Regions from separate parts of the Homo sapiens genome. Here all the other regions are linked to region 1. The links are contacts of gene promoters, found by promoter capture Hi-C in blood cells and fetal thymus (Javierre and others, 2016). All regions are on one chromosome and are shown on one strand. Each heading gives the region's core, a stretch centred on a gene start or on the middle of the fragment in contact. The rest is flanking DNA. Distances are from core to core; before and after follow the strand shown.

Region 1 (2,700 bases), core at 82-2,581:
TAATAATGAGGGCTCCTTTGCATATCAGATATGCCGTGTACCTGTAGAATAACTTCATTAGTACCTAAAGGTCATCTGAATCAACAACCACCAATATTCACTGATACTAAATTGTGGGAAGAAATGTCTCATTTGCTGTCATATAAAACCAACATTACCTGAATAATCATAGGTGTCTACTTTTCAAGATGTGAAAAAAACTTCATATATTACCTTGATCAGTAATTCATAACCCTGGTTGCACATTAAAATAACTTCTGGTAATTCCTAAAATATACTGATGTCAACCTCATCAGAACTGGAGGAGGAGTGCATCAGTAGTGTACTAAAACTCCTCAGTGATCCTAATATGTAGCCAGGAATGAGAATTATCAATCTCTTAGATTAGAGATGCTCCTGAAGGTTACTCTATAAACCAATGGGATCAGTTCTCCCCTCCATATCTTTCCGTGCACAACAGTGGAAGGGAAAAATGAGTGCCACATATTTCAAATGATTTTTTAGCAAATTGATTCTGGAGCATGTATACATGGTAGAATCTCAAACTTCAAGCATAAGAAAATTCATAAACTCTATCGTTAATGCCCAGCTATGACGATGCTGCAGACTTGTGCAAAGAGTTAATAGACTGTACTACTAACAGGGGAGGGGGCAGCTCACCCAATAACAGATGTCTGATTACAGACGCAGTACAAGAGCGAAAAGTACAGACTTTAAAGCCGGTCAACCCGGGGCTCTGCCACACACTGTTTACCTAAACCTGGGTTTCCTCCCTGTAAAATGGGAATTCACATCTACTTCATAAGTAGATATTAACGAGCTAAAACACCTAACTTAGTACGTAGTTACGATGATGATGACTCAATTTATAATACTAAGCTAATTAATGTCTGTTGAGTTTAACTAAAAGCAGAGGACCTGGAGAAAAGACCGGTCTAGGTCACTGCCACTGGCCCGCAAGCTCCTTTTCACAAATGTCCCGATGATGACATGTCATGAGCAGAAGACCAGGCAATTTCAGGCCATAGGAGAGAAAGGATGCAGAGGACAGGACGAGACTTGTAATGCCAAAAGGGGCCCAGAGGCCGCGCATCCCACCTATCGAAGCCTGGGCCGCGGCGATGCCGCCAGGTCTCCAGGATGAACCGAAGGGAGGCCGATGGTGGAGAATAGAGCACGCAAGGTCCCTCACCTTCACTACAGCTGTCCCCCGGCTGCCCTGCCGGCCACTGTCTACTCCCGCTCCGAGCTTGTTTACAACCAGGGTAGCCATCCTCGCAGGGGAAGCGCCACAGAAACAGCCTTCAGAGTCCTCAACTGAGAGGCGGGGTTGAGCCACCTACCCAGAGGCCTCTGCGCACGCCACCGGCGCACAGGCGCAGTAGGACACTGGGCGCCGCTTAGCCGACTCTTACTCCTCCTCCCCGCAATCGTCGGGTGGTTAGTTGCACAGCCTCGCGCATGGGCACTTTTGTTATTTTTCATTATGTAGTCTGCAGCTGCTGGAGGAAAGACAAGAAAAAAAAAGAAGGGACAAAACGATTAAAGTTTTGGGGTGAAAACTCCAGATCCTTTAATGATTTTTCCTCTCGAATCCAAACCAGCCAGGGCGTGAACTGAGGGCGGTGAGGGGGTACGGGCATCTCCCTGCATGCAACGCGGTTTTTGTATAAACTACAAATCCCAGCATGCCACTCTCTCTCTCTCTCTTTTTTTTTTTTTTTTTTTTTTTTAAAAAAAAAACTCCGGCAACGTTGGCCTTTGGGAGGCCGCGTATTGTTACCTAGGGGTGGTTTCTTTTCCTGCAGTCGCGATGTGTGATTGCAGATGGAAAACAAAGTATTTTATGCCTACGTTTCTAAGATAGAAGAAATGGACTTGTTGAAAAGAAGCCAGTTTGTAAAGGACACAGTAGGAGAATTTAAGGTACCACCACCAGAGAGAGGTTGAGAGTGCGTTTGACTTTTGGTTTTGCCAAACGCGAGGTTTTCCGTTTCCTTCCGGGGCAAGTTGAACCTGTCCAGCCCCCGTAGGCTGTGGGTCAAAAGTGCCGGTCAAAATGGAAGTGAATCCCCCTAAACAGGAGCACCTGCTGGCGCTAAAAGGTAAACTTTTGCGAACCTGATTCCCCCTTTTCTGTTTCCTTGCATTCCCTACTTATCGAAGCCTTTGCCATGTAGGCCTCATCCTTCTTAAACACTCAGTGCTCGCCCTCCTGCTCTGTCCTTTGCCGCCAAGCGGGAGGAAGCGATTTCTCCTGGATGCTTTTTAGGTTTATGGGCCCCTTTCTAGAACGAAATAGATACCTGGTAAATCGTTCTTTCTGATCTGTGCTGCTTCAGTCACGAGATTTTAGCCGCAGAAGCTGACGTCCCGCTCCTACCGTGGAGATCTCTGTGAATTACAGCGGGCATCCAAAGTGCTTTTTCCTTCTGTCTCTTGTTTCTTCCTGTGGCACTGACGAAGTTAATCAGGCTTCAGCTTCCCCTGTAAAATTAGTATTGCATGACAGTAGTGCAGAGAATTTAGCAATACATAGTAATACAACATATAACTTAGATTTATTCAAAACAAACTGCAGTTTACTTCAAATCACTGTGTATGTGGGAAATATGTCCGAGATCTAATGTCAACTCTCATTTTTTGTACACAGCCATTTTGAGTAAGTTTGGTGATTTAATTAGATCATTATTTAGGAAA
Region 2 (2,700 bases), core at 3-2,502, 530 kb after region 1:
CCAAATTGGTGAGGTGGGAAAGGAGCTGGTGAATGGTTTCGTTCTACAAACTTTGTAGTGAAATTTCATACTGAGAAACTGCATGGGAAAAAAGAAATCAGGTAAAAGGTTTATTAAACTGGAATATTAATTATATCAGAAAATTAATACCACCAATAACACTGGGTCTTTTATTGTGTTAGCTTATTACTGAATTGGAAGGAAGAATTTTATCAGTGTTGCTTGGTTGAAACCTGCTTTATTCCCATAGAATCTTTCATATATCTGAGAAGCCCTACTGTATTTTGTTATAAATGTTCAAGATGATGGGCGTGTAGATGTCCCTTTTATTGTTTATTTTACTTGATAGAGATGAATAAATGCACAGTCAGATGTACCTTTTTAGTGTTTTTAATATTACAACTTGGACAGTTTTACTGTTTTTGAACAGAAAAATTTAAGCATACTTTTATTGCAATTTAGTTATAAGTAAGTAAATATTTTGAAACACTAACCTACAGTTGGTATTGGTGAAACATTCAGATATACGTTTTTCATTAGTTGTATTAAATACGGCAGAGATGAATTTATGGAACCTCGAGAATTTCACAGTGAGCTGTTAAAATACTGATTATGCACTACAAGCAAAGAAATAGTGCATTATTGTACTAAAAAAGATAGCAGAGTGAGTGTGAAATAACCAAAGAAAAGTATTCCAGTGGAGTAAGTTCTGTAAGAGGAGATGTGCTGTGGTGCTGTAAGCAAGCAGTGTTCTGTTGACCTCACTGAATGCATCCTTTCCTTGATGTTGAACAAACAGCATCATGACATAAGTGAGAAAAACCATAGAAAAAAATTTAAGAAGTTTTTTCAGTTTCTTTGAATTGCTGTTTTTTAGTGTAGACAGTAATGTGAGAAGATCCTAAGTTGTAAAAGTAACATTTGATGTGTAACAGTTTCATGCATATTAAGCCTTAGCCTTTGTTAATAAAACATGCCATTTCAAAATAAAATATGCTTTCATTATACTTGTCCAAATATGACCTCTTTTTGTTGTTGCGTGCATTTCAGATTTCTTTTTATAAATGTTAACACGTAGAAAAAGATACGGTCAAACATAACAAGGGTGTCAGCCTAATCATCAGTCATAACTTTATGTCCACATTTTCTGGTAGATGGATTTTGACTATTAATTTGGTTTTGTATGTTTTCTCTATGTGATATTTGTGCATTATTAGATGACTAGACTGGCCAAGGCAGACCTGTTACACTTGCCTGAGTTAGGCATTGTTTGCCATGCCACTAAACCTGCCGTCAAGTGAAACCTTCATTGGGGAAATGAGATCGGAGTCTGAACCGCAGAAGATGGACGCCCTGTCTCTGTTTTTTATTGTTTTACTTTAATTTCATTTCTTTTTCTTTATTTTGTCCCTTTTTTTGTTTTTGTTTTTGTTTTTGTTTTGTTAAATCTCTTTCACTTTAACTTGTGAGCTGGTTTTCCCAGTTCTTTGTAAATGGTATTTCATTAAGGGTTCATAACGTGTTGCAAATTATATTGGGAGATGATTAGTAGAGCTCAACCTTAAGATAAAGCAAATTTTCATGTGGTAAATTAGGATACAGTGTTGTGAAGCTCATTGTGAGTCTTAATTTGTGTGTATGGACTCATAAGGTACATTTTATTCTTGAAACATTAAAACACTGATAAGTATCTCAGGAACACTTTCTGATCTCAGCGCAACATTTTTCTAGTTTTTTTCCCCCCTAGTCTACATCTCTCATAAAAACTGATAGCTTCTAATTTTTGTCCTTCCCCCTGGAATTTTAGGCATACAAAATCATCAAGGAAAATAAGTAAATATAACAATCTGGGAGTAAAGAAGAGCCTTTCATTTTTATGATGGTTATTTATCATATAACTTATTTCCTTGACTTATGAAGACTTTTTGTTGCCTATGTGGGGAATGGATATTTGAGAAACTTAAGTATTTGCATGTAGGTTTTTGTTAGCTTGAATTTTTTGTTGAATATTTTTCAGAGGTTACTAGCTTCTAAATGGATTCTGAGATTAGGACTATAATACTGTGAGAGATGTTTTCCTCAGTTGACTTTGAGGAGTATAGTTTGGGAAAAATGCTAAATGCTTATTTGTTTTATACTTTTATAAGCTCTGTTATTTGGAGGGTAAATTTGGTAGAATTCTATCTTGGAAATTAAGCAATGGAGCTTTTTCTTAAAGTACTTTTGCCATTACCTTTAGGTAATTAGAATAAGTATATAGAGTAATTAGAATGGTAATTGAAAGTTAATTTATTAAAAAATGTGCTTATAGTGGATTTATACATTTATAGTAGTATACTATATTTATAGTAGTATACTCTTTTGAAAGGCAGTGGGAGAGTTTGACAACCTACTGATACTTAAGCTGAAAGTGAAAGACTTCATAATACTAAGTAGTCAACTTTTGGCCAGTGTTGAATACCCTTTTTGTTTGTATAGTCTTTCTACAATGTCTTCAATAGGTAGTTTTACTTATTAAAGGACAAGTAATATTAAATTTGGGACATTACTAGATTAGAACTCTGAGTTTCCTTAGGTGCATACATTAAGGTAGTGACGATGGAGTTTCTGCCTCAAAACCTCAATTTATCAAGAATGTTCAGGTTTTACAAACCTTTTGAGATAATACCAATTTATAACAGATAAAACAGGTGAAATCAA
Region 3 (2,700 bases), core at 26-2,525, 870 kb before region 1:
TTTTAGTAGAGACGGGGTTTCATCGGGTTACCTAGGATGGTCTCGATCTCCTGACCTCGTGATCCACCCACCTTGGCCTCCCAAAGTGCTGGGATTACAGGCGTGAGCCACCATGCCTGGCCTGTGAATTTCTTTTAAGTTAATTTTGCTAAGGAAATTCTGCCACAGAAAGAGAGACCCATGTTATTTAATAATATATTCAAACTTAACTCAAAACTTTAAAAAACAATATATTCACTATTGAAATATACTGAGAAATAAGCTCTTTTTCTATCAAGTATTGAAATTCTTTAAATTGTACAATCTGAACAACTATTTTTGCAACAAAAGAGAGAGAATATTCTTTTGTAAACAATTGAAAAATACCCATATTTTTGGGAATTAAAAGTATTTCAAATCATCTTCTTGACCTTTCTCTTACCTTTATACAAGCAATACAAAAATTCTGGCCCCCAAATAAAAGATAAGCTAATTTGTAAATGAAATTTCTATTAGAAAGACTTGTAAATTGAGAAGACCTTCATCTTTAATAGCTGTGGAGATGTAAATTTAACACAGAAGGGAAATATGACTAAATTTTTCCACAGGAGACAAATCAGAAATTGTTTAACAACTAAATCACTAAAATCAAAGATCTAAATAATAAAGCAAAAATAACTAAATACGGAAATATTGACAAAACGATTTGCTGACTTGGCTTCTCCTAAAGAATTCTAATTACTGCAGATACTTCCATTGTTGTCTTAAATAAAATAACAATGAGGAGACTACATCAACAAATATTTTATTTCCAGAAAATGAATTTAATTGCTTTCCTCAAAGTGTTAGGTTAAAAGAAGTCCAAGTATAGAGACTGATATTAGTAGACAGACTGGGAAATCCATTCCAGATTTTGAAGTAAATGAAGCATTTGTAGGTTCTTAATTCTTGAATAAAGAAATGAGGCAGGTAAGTCAGCAATGATTAAAAGAAAGTAAACAAAGTTAGCAATGCTTGAAAGAAAGCAAACAAGTAGAAATATAAACAAATTTAAAAATAGAAAAGATTTCATTGCACTCATTTCTTGCGTGCAAGTACATTCTTCAGTTTTCATTTATGTGAGTGATATATATAGTTATATATGCAATTTTGCTACTTGAGCAAGCTTCCCTTGAGCCAGTTTTAGCTTTGCTTGGAAGTATGCGACTTGTTCTCTCAGCATTCTTTTAATGTGCCCTTCTGATGGAGATTTATGCCGAGTACTCTCTTATCACATGTTCTTGCATGAACATCTTTTTGTCAAATCATTCTTAGTTGGTAAAACTTAATAACTCTTCAATGAATTGGAATGTATTAACAATCCAGGCTAATTCACACGGTCTGCAAACAACTTAGAAAATAGCAAATGTTGTTGCTATAGCTGTTACTAAAGCTTTAGGCATTACTATATTTAACTAAAGAATATTTACTTACAGTATAAAATTACAAATTTATATTTATAATTACACATGCTTAAGTTTACCTTTTCACTCACTTAATCATAATGGAGATTAATAATTGTTTAAATCAAGTTTTCGCCCATGAGCAGAAATTCTGAGACCAATTGAATCTTTAAAGTAAATGTAATAAACACAAAAAATCTTCATAAATAGTTTGCATTGCCTTCACTTTTTCTCCTAGTATGTGGAAAGGGGGAAAAGAATAAGTATGTATATAGTTTTTAAAAAATATACTTTCTCCAAACTCCTTAATCTACTACTAACCACCTGTATCTTCATGCTACTTTTGGTAGTCATCAGATACATAGCTACCTGTTACTGGGTCTAAAGCAGGGAAGAAAAGTGAATATTTAGTGCTAACAGAGGAATTTCTGTAACTAGATGTTAGCTTAGGGCTAAAGGACTATGCAACTGGGCCCCTGAAATCAGGGTGCTACATTATATTGCCCAAAGAGGCCATGATTCCAGTATGAATAATGCAAAGCATGTCATCTTTTAGAATACTTACGGTAGCCACATTTTTTACAGCCTGCTCTGACACTGTCCTTGTTGCAACCTGAAATACAATTGGATAGAATTTTAGGAAGTAAATAAATATGCGAAAACTTAAAAACTTTATTGTATGAAAAAAGCTAAGAAAAACCATTTGTTATAGAATTTCTTTTTTTTTGTTGTTGAGACAAGGTGTCACTCTGTCACCAAGGCTAGAGTACACTGACATGATCACAGCTCACTACAGCCTCCAGCTCCTGGCTCAGGCGATCCTCCTACCTTAGCCTCCCAAGCAGCTGAGACTACAGGCATGTGCCACCACACCTGGCTAACTTTTAAATTTTTTTGCAGAGATGAGGTTGTGCTTTGTTGCCCAGGCGATCTCAAACTTCTGGCCTCAAGCGATCCTCCTCTGGCCTCTCAAGGTGCTGGGATTGTAGGTAAGAGCCACCGCACCCAGTAGAATTTATTTCTTTAAGAAACAGCAACAACAAAAAATCATCTCTGACCCAGCTTAATGACCTACTCAATTATATGACTCTTATAAATCAACAGAAAGGCCAATTTACTCAAATTATTTGACAAATACATCAATAACATTTTTTTCTAATTCAATATAATAAAATAAGACAAACACATATGGCTAACAAACATAAAAAAAAGCTCCACATCACTAATCATCAGAGAAATGCAAATCAAAACCACAGTGAGATACCAACTCACACCAGTC
Region 4 (2,700 bases), core at 11-2,510, 850 kb before region 1:
TGATATTATCAAGGTATTAATTGGGAATTTTAAGAGAAAGAGCCAAGGAGGCCTACAAAGTAGTGATGACCAAAGAGAATGTATGGCCAGAGGAGGAAGGAGCCATATACCTTCTTTATTAATTCAGTAGCTTATTAATGAAAAGATTAAGAAACCCTGGTGAGCAAAGTGGCCCGATTATATATGCATTCTTTTTACTAGGTGTAAGTTGCCTGTGGCCAAAAAACCACGTAATAATGACTATCATTTTTTGAGCACTTATTATTTGTCATTTACTTTTCTAAGCAGTCTATGTATTACAGCTCATTTTGTCCTCACAGAAATCCTAAAAGATATTATTATCCCGTTTTTAGATTAGGAAATTAAGTGACAGAGATGTCAGATAGTGTGCGCAAGGTAACAAAGCTAGTAAATGGAAGGGCCAGTATTTGAATTTGGGCATCCTGATTCCAGAGCCTGTGGAGGGAGGGATGATGTAATTAGTGTGTTCATTAGAGCAGTGGTTTCTAAACCAGTGAGTGCATACTTCAGTGGGTGTGCAAAACCATCCATGAGCTGTGGGGAGAAAATCTATATATATTTGTATTTTTTTCCTTTGTTTAAATTCATTATTTAATATATATAAAAAGATGATGACTGGGTGCAGTGGCTCATGCCTATAATCCCAGCACTTTGGGAGACTATGGCAGATTGCCTGAGGTCAGGAGTTCAAGACCAATCTGGCCAACAGGGTGAAACCCTGTCTCTACTAAAAAAAATGCAAAAAAAGTAGCCGGGCATGATGTTGTGAGCCTGTAATCCCAGCTACTCAGGAGGCTAAGGCAGGGGAATTGCTTGAACCAAGGAAGTGGAGGTTGCAGTGAACTGAGATCACACCACTGCACTCGGGTCTGGGAGACAGTGAGACTCTGTCTCAAAAAAAAAAAAAAAAAAAAAAAAAAAAAAAGTCCAGGCGCAGTGGCTCATGCCTGTAATCCCAGCACTTTGGGAGGCTGAGGCGGGCGGATCATGAGATCAGGAGCTCGAGACCAGCCTGGCCAACATGGTGAAACCCCGTCTCTACTAAAGATACAAAAAATTAGCTGGGTGTGGCGGTGGGTGCCTGTAGTCCCAGCTACTCGGGAGGCTGAGGCAGGAGAATTGCTTGAACCCGGGAAGCAGAGGTTGCAGTGAGCCGAGATCGTGCCGTTGCACTCCAGCCTGCGCAACGGGGTGAGACTCTGTCTCAAAAAAAAAAAAAGGCACTTTTTTGGCATTGTGGTGTAATTTTTCATAACGACTAGCCAAATAGATTTATAGACCATAGTATTTAGATTAACTAAACCAGCCATCACAAATTTCTTATTGAAGATATTATTAATAATATAAACAAGCAAATCATAAGAACATGATAGAGCTGATACCTCAGCATGGGAAGTCTGTCAAAAAAATCAGAAATTATTATGAAGACCATTGGAAATATGGATTTCTATTTATTGTTTTCAATGGTGAACTTTGCCTTAAATATATATTGTGTCTTGAAATATTTACCAGTAAGAGTATAAAGTCATTGTGATTTTCAAGACATTTAAAAACTAGATGTGTAGAACTGAAAGACCCCTATATAATTTGAAAGCAACATTATGCTAAGTAAAAGAAGCCAGACACAAAAGGCCACATATTGTATGATTCTGTTTATATGAAATGTTTAATAGGCAAATCTACACAGACAGAAAGTAGATTAGTGGCTGCCAGAGAGTAGGAGTAGGGGTAAATAGGGAGTGACTGCTAATGAGTACAGGGTTTCTTTTTAGGGTGGTGAAATGTGACTTAGCATTGATGATACTGACCTATGAGAAACAGCCTCATGTTTTTGAACAGTTATATTGCATACTCTTTACTTGAAAGAGCATTCTAAAAGATTGTGATGGTCACAAATTATTGACACTGATCTACTTTGGTATACTAGGGGAGAAAAAAGAAGAAGTAATACTGGAGAAATTGGTTTCCAGCTATGCCACAATGTTCAAATTTAGAGCCTAACATTCTTTTTGGTTATTTGTGGTTATAAATAAGACAGTTATAAACTGTTTCCTGTGGGCCCAGCAGGGAGGGGTTCTAGTTGCAAAGTTTCTGGTTCTACCAAGGAGTATCTGCTGTTATGAGCTGGTGGAAAGGCTATCACGGGATTCTATTTACTATAGAAGGTGATTTTAAGACATAGTATTTTAGTAAATCACAAGCCAGAATTAGATTAAGAATGTTCCTTTGTAAATTAGGAATAGCATGATGTTAAATGAGCAGAGAGAGTAAAAGGTAATTAAAAAGGGTAATTATAAAATTGTCCTATAATGTCACAATTTAATGGGTTCATTATTCTTTAATTTCTTAATTTGCTACACAGTTTTATTGGAATTGATGCAATGGGAAACTCAATTATAACAAATTTGCATTATTGGGGTTTTGTCATGTTTTATTTTATTTTGAGACAGGGTCTTGCTCTGTCATCCAGGCTGGAATATAGTGGCATGATCATAGCTCACTATTACTTCAGATTCCCAGGCTCAAGTGATCCTCTCAACTCGGCCTCCCAAATAGCATGGAACACCACCATGCCTGGCTAATTAAAACAAATTTTCTTAGAGACAGGGTCTGTCTGTGTTGCCGAAGCTGTTCTTGAACTCCTAGCCTCAAGTGAACTCACTTTAGATATTACCGTTT
Region 5 (2,704 bases), core at 95-2,594, 560 kb after region 1:
TCTAGATAACAACACATCTGTTCACAGCATGATTTACTATTTTAAATCCAGTTTTGAGACCTATTGCTAAAAAAACAAATTCCTTTCAGAATATTACTGTTCCTTGACAATCTCCTGGTTGCCCAAGAGCTCTGATGGAGATGTACAAGGAGATTAATGCTTTCATGCCTGTACAAACGATATTCATTCTGTAGCCCGTGGATCAAGGAGTAATTTTGACTTTCTAGTCTTATTATTTAAGAAATACATTTCATAAGGCTATAGCTGTCATAGATTGTGATTCCTCCGATGGATCTGGGCAAAGTACATTGGAAACCTAGAAAAGAGTTACCATTCCAGATGCCATTAACATTTGTTATTCATGGGAAGAGAACAAAATAACAACATGAGGCCAGGCGGGGTGGCTCACGCCTGTAATCCTAGCATGTTGGGAGGCTGAGGAGGGTGTATCAGTTGAGGTCAGGAGTTTGAGACCAGCCTGGCCAACATGGCAAAAGCCCATCTCTACTAAAATACAAAAATTAGCCAGACATGATGGGTGCATGTCTGTAATCCCAGCTACACAGGAGGCTGAGGCACAAGAATTGCTTGAGCTTGGGAGGTGGAGGTTGCAGTGAGCTGTGATTGCGCCATTACACTCCAGCCTGGGCAACAGAGGGAAACTGTCTTAAAAATAAATAAATAAATAAAAATAAAAAGCAACATCAAGAGGAGCTTGGAAGTAGTTGCTTCCAGCCCTCATGGATGGCTTTGAGGGGCTTAAGACTTCAGTGAAGGACTTCACTGCAGATGTAGAAATAGAGAACTAGAATTAAAAGTGGAACCTGAAGATGTGACTGAATTGCTGCAATCTCATGATAGAACTTGAAGAGATGAGGAGTTGCTTCTTATGGATGAGCAAAGAAAGTGGCTCCTTGAGATGTAATCTACTCCTGGTGAAGATGCTATGAATGCTGTTGAAATGACCACAAAGGATTTAGAATATTACTTAATTGATAAAGCAGTGGCAGGGTTTGAAAGGATTGACTCCAATTTTAAAAGTACTACATGGGTAAAATGCTGTCAGACAGCATCCCATGCTACAGAGAAATCTGTGAAAGGAAGAGTCAATCGATGTGGCAAACTTTATTATTTTAAGAAATTGCTACGTTTACCTCAGCCTTCACCAATCACAACCCTGATTAGCAGTTATCAACATCAAGGCAAGACCCTCTACCAGCAAAAAGATTATGACCCACTGAAGGCTTAGACAATCGCTAGCATTTTTTAAGCAGTATTTTAAATTAAGGTATGTACACTTTTTTAGATATAATGGTATTGCACACTCAATAGGCCATAGTTATAAAACATAACTTTTAAATGCACTGGGAAACCAAAGAATTTATGTGACTTGCTTTATTGTGATACTCACCTTATTATGGTGGCCTGGAACTGAACCCCTAATATCCCTGAGAATGCCTGCAACTTCCATCTTGTTCCCACCCTCAGTCACATCTGCTAAGTCCTCCCAATTGTGCATTTCCTCTGAAATATCTTAAGTATGCCCTTGTATGATTTTAGTTACATGGAATAGAATCACTCTAGCAGAAAAGTAACTGTAGTATTAGAATTGTCATTTTCCTTTTAGTCTGCTTCTGTAGCCTACTAATTGGTCTTGCAACCCCAGACCTTTTTCAAATTCATTTCAACGTATGTTGCCACTTGATTAAATGTATTTAAATTGGTCTGAGTTTTTTTGTAATTTCATTCTGGTTTTGGTATAAGGGGCATGCTTGCCTAATAGAATGAGTTGGAAAGTAATTCCCTCCTCTTCACTTTTCTGAAGGAATTTGTGTCAAATTGTTAAGGTAGAATACCTCAAAAAAGCCAACCTGAGCCTGGAATAGTCTTTCACACTACAAATTCAGTGTTAAAACTAGATTTAGAGTTATTCAAGCTATTTATTCTTAGGGTTTATTTGTTTTGTTTTGTTTTGTTTTAGAGTTGGGGTCTCACTATGTGGCCCAGGCTGGTCTCAAACTCCTGAGCTCAAGAGATCCTCCTCCTTCAGCCTCCTGAGTAGTTGGGACTACATGCACACATCCCCATGCTTGGCCCTTGTTTATTTATTCTTAAATGAGCATTGATGTTGTGTATCTTTAATGAAATTTGTCTATTTTATCTAAGTTGTCAACTTTATTGCCATGAAGTTATTCATACTTCCTTACGACCTTTTAATACATATAAGATCTATACCGATGTCCTCTCTCACTCATAATATCGTTAACTTGTGTCTTCCTTCTTTTTATTCTGATCAGTCAAGCTAGAGGTTTATCAATTTATTTTCTCAAATCAGATTTCACTGTCATCAATTTTTCTTTTTTAGTTCACTGATTTCTGCTCTTCATTATTTATTTTCTTTTTCTTCTTTTGGATTTAGTTTGCCCTCTTTTTCTAGTTTAAGGTGTGAACAGGAGTCACTGACTTCAGACCTTTCTTTTTTAATATATGTATTTAGTGCTATACATTTCCTTCAAAGCACTACTTTAGCTGTATTCTAACAAATTTTGCTGTGTTGTATTTTCATTTTCATTGAGTTCAAAATACTTCATAATTTTCCCTTAGATTTTGTCTTTGATCCATGGGTTATTGAAATGTGTGTTAATTAGTGTCCAAATATTTGGGAATTTTCAAAGATCTTTCTGTAACTGATTTCTAACTTAAT
Region 6 (2,700 bases), core at 201-2,700, 820 kb before region 1:
AGTTTTTCAAATTATACATATGCCACTTTTTATATAAAAACCCATTAATCTGTGCATTGTATAATTTACTAGGAAGTACATAACTTTCCATGCATGAACACAGATTTATCTATTATCACAGTCAAAAGAGAAGGCTCTCTATGGCTATCAGTAGTAGATAGAGAGAGGATGAATATCTGACCTTGTCAAGAAAAGCTTCCTGGAAGAGATGATGCTATTTATGTCTTATATGAGAGTTAGGAGTTAGCTAAGTCAGAAAAGAAAGTGATGAAGGGGGTGAGGTCCCTCTAGCTCAGAGAATAGCATATGCTAAAGCATGGAAATAAGGAGAGATCATACCTTATTTAGGAAATACAAACGGAAATTTAAAGTTTCAAGGAGTCTGTCTTGTGAAGAGCAAGGAAGAAGAGTATTGAAGGTAAGGGGAACTGCATATACAAAATGGTCCGAAGCAGGAGAGTTTGGTGTGTTCTAAGAGCTGCAAGCAGGCCAGCGTGAACAGGGTGTGGTGACAGGCCAGAGCTTCATTACAGAGCTTCATAGGCCATGGTGAGGGGTTTGAGTTTTTTCCTAAAAGGAAGTGAGGAACAGTTGAAAGGTGTTTGTTAAAAAGAAGGATGCTATGATCAATTTTGCATTTCAGGAAGATCACTATTGGCGATATTATAGAGGACAAATTAGAGGAAACAGACTGATACTGGGAAGCTATTGTAGGAGGAGAGCTTGATATAAGACCACAGCTGTGAGATGGGAAAGAGGTAGATTTGAAAGAGGTCTAGGAGGTGACTGATTCTACACTATGAGGTGAGGGAGGAGTAGTCCAAGACAACCACAAGGTTTCTGGTTTGAGCAACTTGTTAGATGGGTGCAAAAGAAAGCATAGGGTTGAGGTGGAGAAAAGGATGAAAAATAATGAGCTTAATTTTATACATTTCAAGATTGAGGTAATTTGGAGACATCTGTGTAACATAATATGGGTCTAGAAGTTAGGATCAATGTATAGGATAGAAAGTAAAAGTATAGATTTGCTCTTAATATCATGGGTGAGTGACTAAAACTGTGAATCCTTTCCCAGGAAAATGTACTACATTCACAACCAAAATTATATGAATTTGCAGGGAATTTTTTTTAGATCTCCTGAGGCCTGAGCATGGAAGGCCTAGGTTGGTGGTTGTCACCTTTTAGTGCTTAAGAATTACTTAAACATCTTGTTGAAAACATTCGTAATTCCTACCCCAGAGATTTTGGTTCAATAAGTCTGCAATGAGGGCTAGAATTTTAGGTGTTAATAAACAACTATGTAATACCATCTAAGGACCAGACTTTGAGGACCAGTGCTTTAGGGGTCCACAAGTCTCAAATTAAGAATCCTGCTTCACTACGACTCACCAGATCAAAGAAAGAATCACAAAAGAAAAATGATCCACTTGGGGTTATTTCTTCCTTCTTCTCTCCCCTCTTTCTTCCCTTTGTTCCTCCATCTGTCAATGCTGGGCACTATTCTAGGAGTTGAAGATACAGCAGTAAGCAAAACAGGCCAGAATTTTAGCTCTCATGGAGTGTTTGCTGTAATTGGATGACAGACAATACACATGCAAATAATTAAAATATATGGTGTATCAGATAGGTGATAAGTACTTTGGAAAATAAGCCAGGGAAGATGAAAGAGTACTGGAGGTAAGTGTGTGGTTCTACCATTTTAATAGGTTAATCTCATCACCAAGAGGGTAACATTTGAGCAAAGATCTGAAGGAGATGAAAGAGCAAGCAATGAAGAGATATCTGGAATAGAGTATTTGTTTCAGGCTGGAGAGAACAACAACTCCAAAGTTGGCTAGTGTTGGTGGGCTGGAGTTGTAGGAGATTATGTCAGGGAGGTTTAGATTGCATAGGGCCTTGAGTGAGTTGGGGACCCACTAGAGGGTTTTCACAAGAGAAGTGATTGCTGTGACTTGGATTATAGAAATCTCAGCTTCTGCACTACACCTCTTCTACTTGAATTGATCCCTGTTGAGGTCAGTATGCTGGCCAACTGCCTTCAAAAGCCACATTTCCCACTGAGATAAGAATAGGAATATAGACAGAATAGCCCGAGTGACACAGAGGGAGAAGTCTGCTGCACAAAGGAGCTGGGCATGAGTTGAGCGAACAGCCTTTCCTGGGGTATCCCATAATTACATAGTTGGCTTAGAGCAGAACCCAGGGCTATTCCCACCTGTAGCAGATTCTTCAAGGGCTTATAATTCAAAACAAAAGAAAACAAAATAAAAAAAAAAACCTAGTTTAGAATGCAATAAGGAGATTCAGTGGATGCAATAGATCTCTAGAAATGAAAGGGGAAATTGAGCACCTGGCAAATACTCATTTTCCATTTCTACAGGATGGAGAAGATGAAAGTGCAGAGCATGATGAATATATTGATGGTGATGAAAAGAACCTGATGAGAGAAAGAATTGCCAAAAAATTAAAAAAGGACACAAGTGCGAATGTTAAATCAGCTGGAGAAGGAGAAGTGGAGAAGAAATCAGTCAGCCGCAGGTGAGTCAGTTACTGTGCTAGATATCAGAGTTTTTGTCTTTTTATATTTCACTTTAATTCAGATTGAATCCTCTCTTCAGCTAATTTTTAAAATACTATTTTCATAATGTTTGATAAACATAACAGTTGTACAAATTGGCCCATTAGCAGGCCTAAAATAAA
Region 7 (2,740 bases), core at 124-2,623, 590 kb before region 1:
ACAGCCCTCCAGACTTAGTGACATAATCTGTGACTTGAGCCATATGTTGTTCCATGTCATCTGCAGAGGCCCATGGCTTGTTCCTAAAAAAGACCTAGAAGTCAGACTCCATAGGAACTAAAGAGTCCTCACTGCAATTGAGAGACAGGGCTAGCTGGATTTTCTAGGCCAACTAAGAATCCCTAAGCCTAGCTGGGAAGGTGACCACATCCACCTTTAAACACGGGGCTTGCAACTTAGCTCACACCCGACCAATCAGGTAGTAAGGAGAGCTCACTAAAAAGCTAATTAGGCAAAAACAGGAGGTAAAGAAATAGCCAATCATCTGTTGCCTGAGAGCACAGCAGGAGGGACAATGATCAGGATATAAACCCAGGCATTCGAGCCAGCAACGGCTACCCTCTTTGGGTCCCTCCCTTTGTATGGGAGCTCTGCTTTCACTCTATTAAATCTTGCAACTGCACTCTCTTCCAGTCCGTGTTTGTTAGGGCTGGAGCTGAGCTTTCGCTCGCCATCCACCACTGCCGTTTCCGGCCACTGCAGACCCGCCACTGACTTCCATCCGTCCAGATCCAGCAGGGAGTCCGCTGTGCTCCTGATCCAGTGAGGTACCCATTGCCGCTCCTGATCAGGCTAAAGGCTTGCCCTTATTCCTGCACAGCTAAGTGCCTGGGTTCGCCCTAATGGAGCTGAACACTAGTCACTTGGTTCCACAGTTCTCTTCCGTGACCCATGGCTTCTAATAGAGCTGTAATACTCACCGCATGGCCCGAGATTCCATTCCTTGGAATCCGTGAGCCCAAGAACCCCAGGTCAGAGAACACAAGGCTTGCCACCATCTTGGAAGCGGCCTGCGGCCAGTTTGGAAGCGGCCCGTGGCCATTTTGCAAGCAGCCCGCCACCATCTTGGGAGCTCTGGGAGCAAGGACCCCCTGGTCACACAATCGCTGAACTACAGCCCTCTGCTTCTGGCTCCCAACTTTCTGAAGCACTGTGGGGAAGATGGTTCTTCACCAATCCTGCAATCCAACGGCCACCCAGTAAAATGAGGAACAGACATTCTTCCCAGCCCTGTGGGCTAGACGAGTAGCTAGTGTCTCTTCTATAGGTTGGTAATGGTTCCAGGTTGTAGAATGAGGTCTTCATGACTTACGGGGCTGTGGCATCATTGGGTTCCTGGATGACATTCTAATATGGTCCATGACCTGCCTTAAGCTCCTGGGTAAACCCTCTCTTCATGCATAATGTGGGTAATGTATTTAGCGTCTTTCTCCAAAGAAAATCTCTATGCTAACAAGGGTTAGTAGTGTGCTGGAATGGTACACTCACCTCTCTTGCGCATGGTAGCTCACCCCCTACTCCCTTTAACTATCCAAAACACTCGATGTCTCCTGAGCCTTGTTTAATAACAGGGCCTTTTTTCCCTCCAGACAATCCCATCAAGAACCACCTAAAAAAAAGACAGCTATTTAAAAATCTGTGACACTCAAAAAAGTCTTCCAACATATGAATGCCAGCTCTTTTTGTCTTTAATCCTCTATTTTTCTTACTGTTGGTAAGTAAAACTTATGGGGAGGGGAGGGGGGTTTGTTTTTATTTTGTTTTTTTATAAGTGCACTTTTTCTTCAACCACCTTATATGCAGGAAGTGAAGTAAATATTGACCTAAAAACATTAAAGCACCTTCAAAAACCAAGTAGTTTTTCCCCTAGAATTACTGTACAACTAGAAAATGGCCTTGGTTGTCATTGGCCTTGGTTGTCATTGACCTTGGTTTAATGCCTGGTTAAACCCTAAGGAAACTGCTTCCAAGACAGGATTTAGATGCTCCAGAAGTTGTTAGAATGTGGTGCACAAAAAATATTTCATATCCTGGTTTACTTGCCTGAAGAACCTCCATGAAGTAGACTCTATACAGGAAACAATTCCATCTTCCAGAGTGAATATTCACTCATTTGCTTTTCCAGCCAGGAGACTGGAAGAAGCCAGCAGGCAATGTAGTCATTTGGTAATGTTCTTCCTACTGCCAAGATGGATTAATGCTGGGAGACCTTACAACGGGTGAGTAATCGGTAGTGCGTGCAGGCCCTCGGAGATCCCTGAGGTGTGATTATTTTCATGCGTACATTTCTGTCGTCATCCTCCAAAGGGTGCTTTGTCATTTCCTTCACTCTTTCCTCACTGGACTCTCAAGTCTGTATTACAAGGATGACATGATTTCCAAGTCATTGCCAATCTCCTCAAACTGAGTTGGTGAGCACTTTAAGGACATTGCTAAAATGTGAGGGTTGTACTAACAAGATTACTCTGGTTTCCCTTTAAATGATTCTGGAAAAGTATGAACAGTTGTTTATTAAAATATGATTTAGAACCTAATCAACCCCTAGGTCCACTGCCTTGTTTGCTATGTTCCTACCTAATCCTCAGGTTGACATTAAGATGGCATGGACCTATTAAGATCTCAGACTATGAGCAACTACATTGAAACAACAATGTAAATATGTAAGATGTGAGTTTTAAAATTAATTGCACTTTGCATTTTTTAGCATTACTATCATTTACTCCCTGAGCTGCTCTCACCGCCACCACTCCAACTCTTCAACTTGTGTTCAACTCCCTTCTGGAAGTAAACAGGCCTGTGAAATGGGAAATCAGACATCAAAAGAGCTCACACTCTAACCTTTTGTTCAAGTTCTGTCCCTGCCACCAACTAGCTGGGAGTCCTTAGAGGATATACCTAA

The links. Contacts are between HindIII fragments. The CHiCAGO score rates a contact against its expected background, and 5 or more counts as called.
Region 2: a contact is called between a fragment that was not itself captured here and the fragment with the promoter of TRIM23 in region 1, in 12 of 17 cell types (neutrophils, monocytes, naive CD8 T cells and 9 more). The highest score is 13.2, in neutrophils.
Region 3: a contact is called between a fragment that was not itself captured here and the fragment with the promoter of TRIM23 in region 1, in 3 of 17 cell types (naive CD8 T cells, total CD8 T cells and activated CD4 T cells). The highest score is 5.8, in naive CD8 T cells.
Region 4: a contact is called between a fragment that was not itself captured here and the fragment with the promoter of TRIM23 in region 1, in 10 of 17 cell types (fetal thymus, naive CD8 T cells, activated CD4 T cells and 7 more). The highest score is 11.7, in fetal thymus.
Region 5: a contact is called between a fragment that was not itself captured here and the fragment with the promoter of TRIM23 in region 1, in 1 of 17 cell types (non-activated CD4 T cells). The highest score is 5.6, in non-activated CD4 T cells.
Region 6: a fragment that was not itself captured here is called in contact with the fragment with the promoter of TRIM23 in region 1 in 1 of 17 cell types (naive CD8 T cells); the score reaches 6.1 in naive CD8 T cells.
Region 7: a fragment that was not itself captured here is called in contact with the fragment with the promoter of TRIM23 in region 1 in 2 of 17 cell types (total CD8 T cells and naive CD8 T cells); the score reaches 5.2 in total CD8 T cells.

The regions. Positions count from the first base shown.
Region 1 is chr5:65,623,002-65,625,701 of GRCh38, forward strand. TRIM23 (tripartite motif containing 23) reads right to left here and starts at 1,332. Exons shown (of 11, transcript NM_001656.4): 1 at 1,193-1,332. The coding sequence starts at 1,273. TRAPPC13 (trafficking protein particle complex subunit 13) reads left to right here and starts at 2,026. Exons shown (of 13, transcript NM_024941.4): 1 at 2,026-2,105. The coding sequence starts at 2,060. It overlaps SHLD3 (shieldin complex subunit 3), which reads left to right and starts at 2,026. Exons shown (of 2, transcript NM_001365341.2): 1 at 2,026-2,105. RefSeq lists enhancers at 1,002-1,331, 1,462-1,541. The HindIII fragment of the contact is 4,327 bases long and covers 1-2,700 here.
Region 2 is chr5:66,154,848-66,157,547 of GRCh38, forward strand. All of the region lies in intron 2 of SREK1 (splicing regulatory glutamic acid and lysine rich protein 1), which reads left to right. Among named protein-coding and RNA genes, the nearest start is that of SREK1, 12 kb to the left of the region's middle. The HindIII fragment of the contact is 4,476 bases long and covers 1-2,700 here.
Region 3 is chr5:64,752,329-64,755,028 of GRCh38, forward strand. SREK1IP1 (SREK1 interacting protein 1) reads right to left here. Exons shown (of 5, transcript NM_173829.4): 2 at 1,987-2,034. It overlaps LOC124900985 (a long non-coding RNA gene), which reads right to left. Exons shown (of 4, transcript XR_007058787.1): 4 at 2,411-2,442. Among named protein-coding and RNA genes, the nearest start is that of SREK1IP1, 15 kb to the right of the region's middle. The HindIII fragment of the contact is 267 bases long and covers 1,143-1,409 here.
Region 4 is chr5:64,771,710-64,774,409 of GRCh38, forward strand. The region is part of intron 1 of CWC27 (CWC27 spliceosome associated cyclophilin); the gene reads left to right. Among named protein-coding and RNA genes, the nearest start is that of CWC27, 4.1 kb to the left of the region's middle. The HindIII fragment of the contact is 3,566 bases long and covers 1-2,700 here.
Region 5 is chr5:66,186,593-66,189,296 of GRCh38, forward strand. It overlaps LOC401191 (a long non-coding RNA gene), which reads left to right and starts at 653. Exons shown (of 5, transcript XR_007058794.1): 1 at 653-2,704. The HindIII fragment of the contact is 4,113 bases long and covers 1-2,704 here.
Region 6 is chr5:64,801,849-64,804,548 of GRCh38, forward strand. CWC27 (CWC27 spliceosome associated cyclophilin) reads left to right here. Exons shown (of 14, transcript NM_005869.4): 10 at 2,381-2,538. Among named protein-coding and RNA genes, the nearest start is that of CWC27, 34 kb to the left of the region's middle. The HindIII fragment of the contact is 2,515 bases long and covers 194-2,700 here.
Region 7 is chr5:65,030,344-65,033,083 of GRCh38, forward strand. No RefSeq gene overlaps it. Among named protein-coding and RNA genes, the nearest start is that of CWC27, 260 kb to the left of the region's middle. RefSeq lists an enhancer at 1,290-2,489. The HindIII fragment of the contact is 2,956 bases long and covers 1-2,740 here.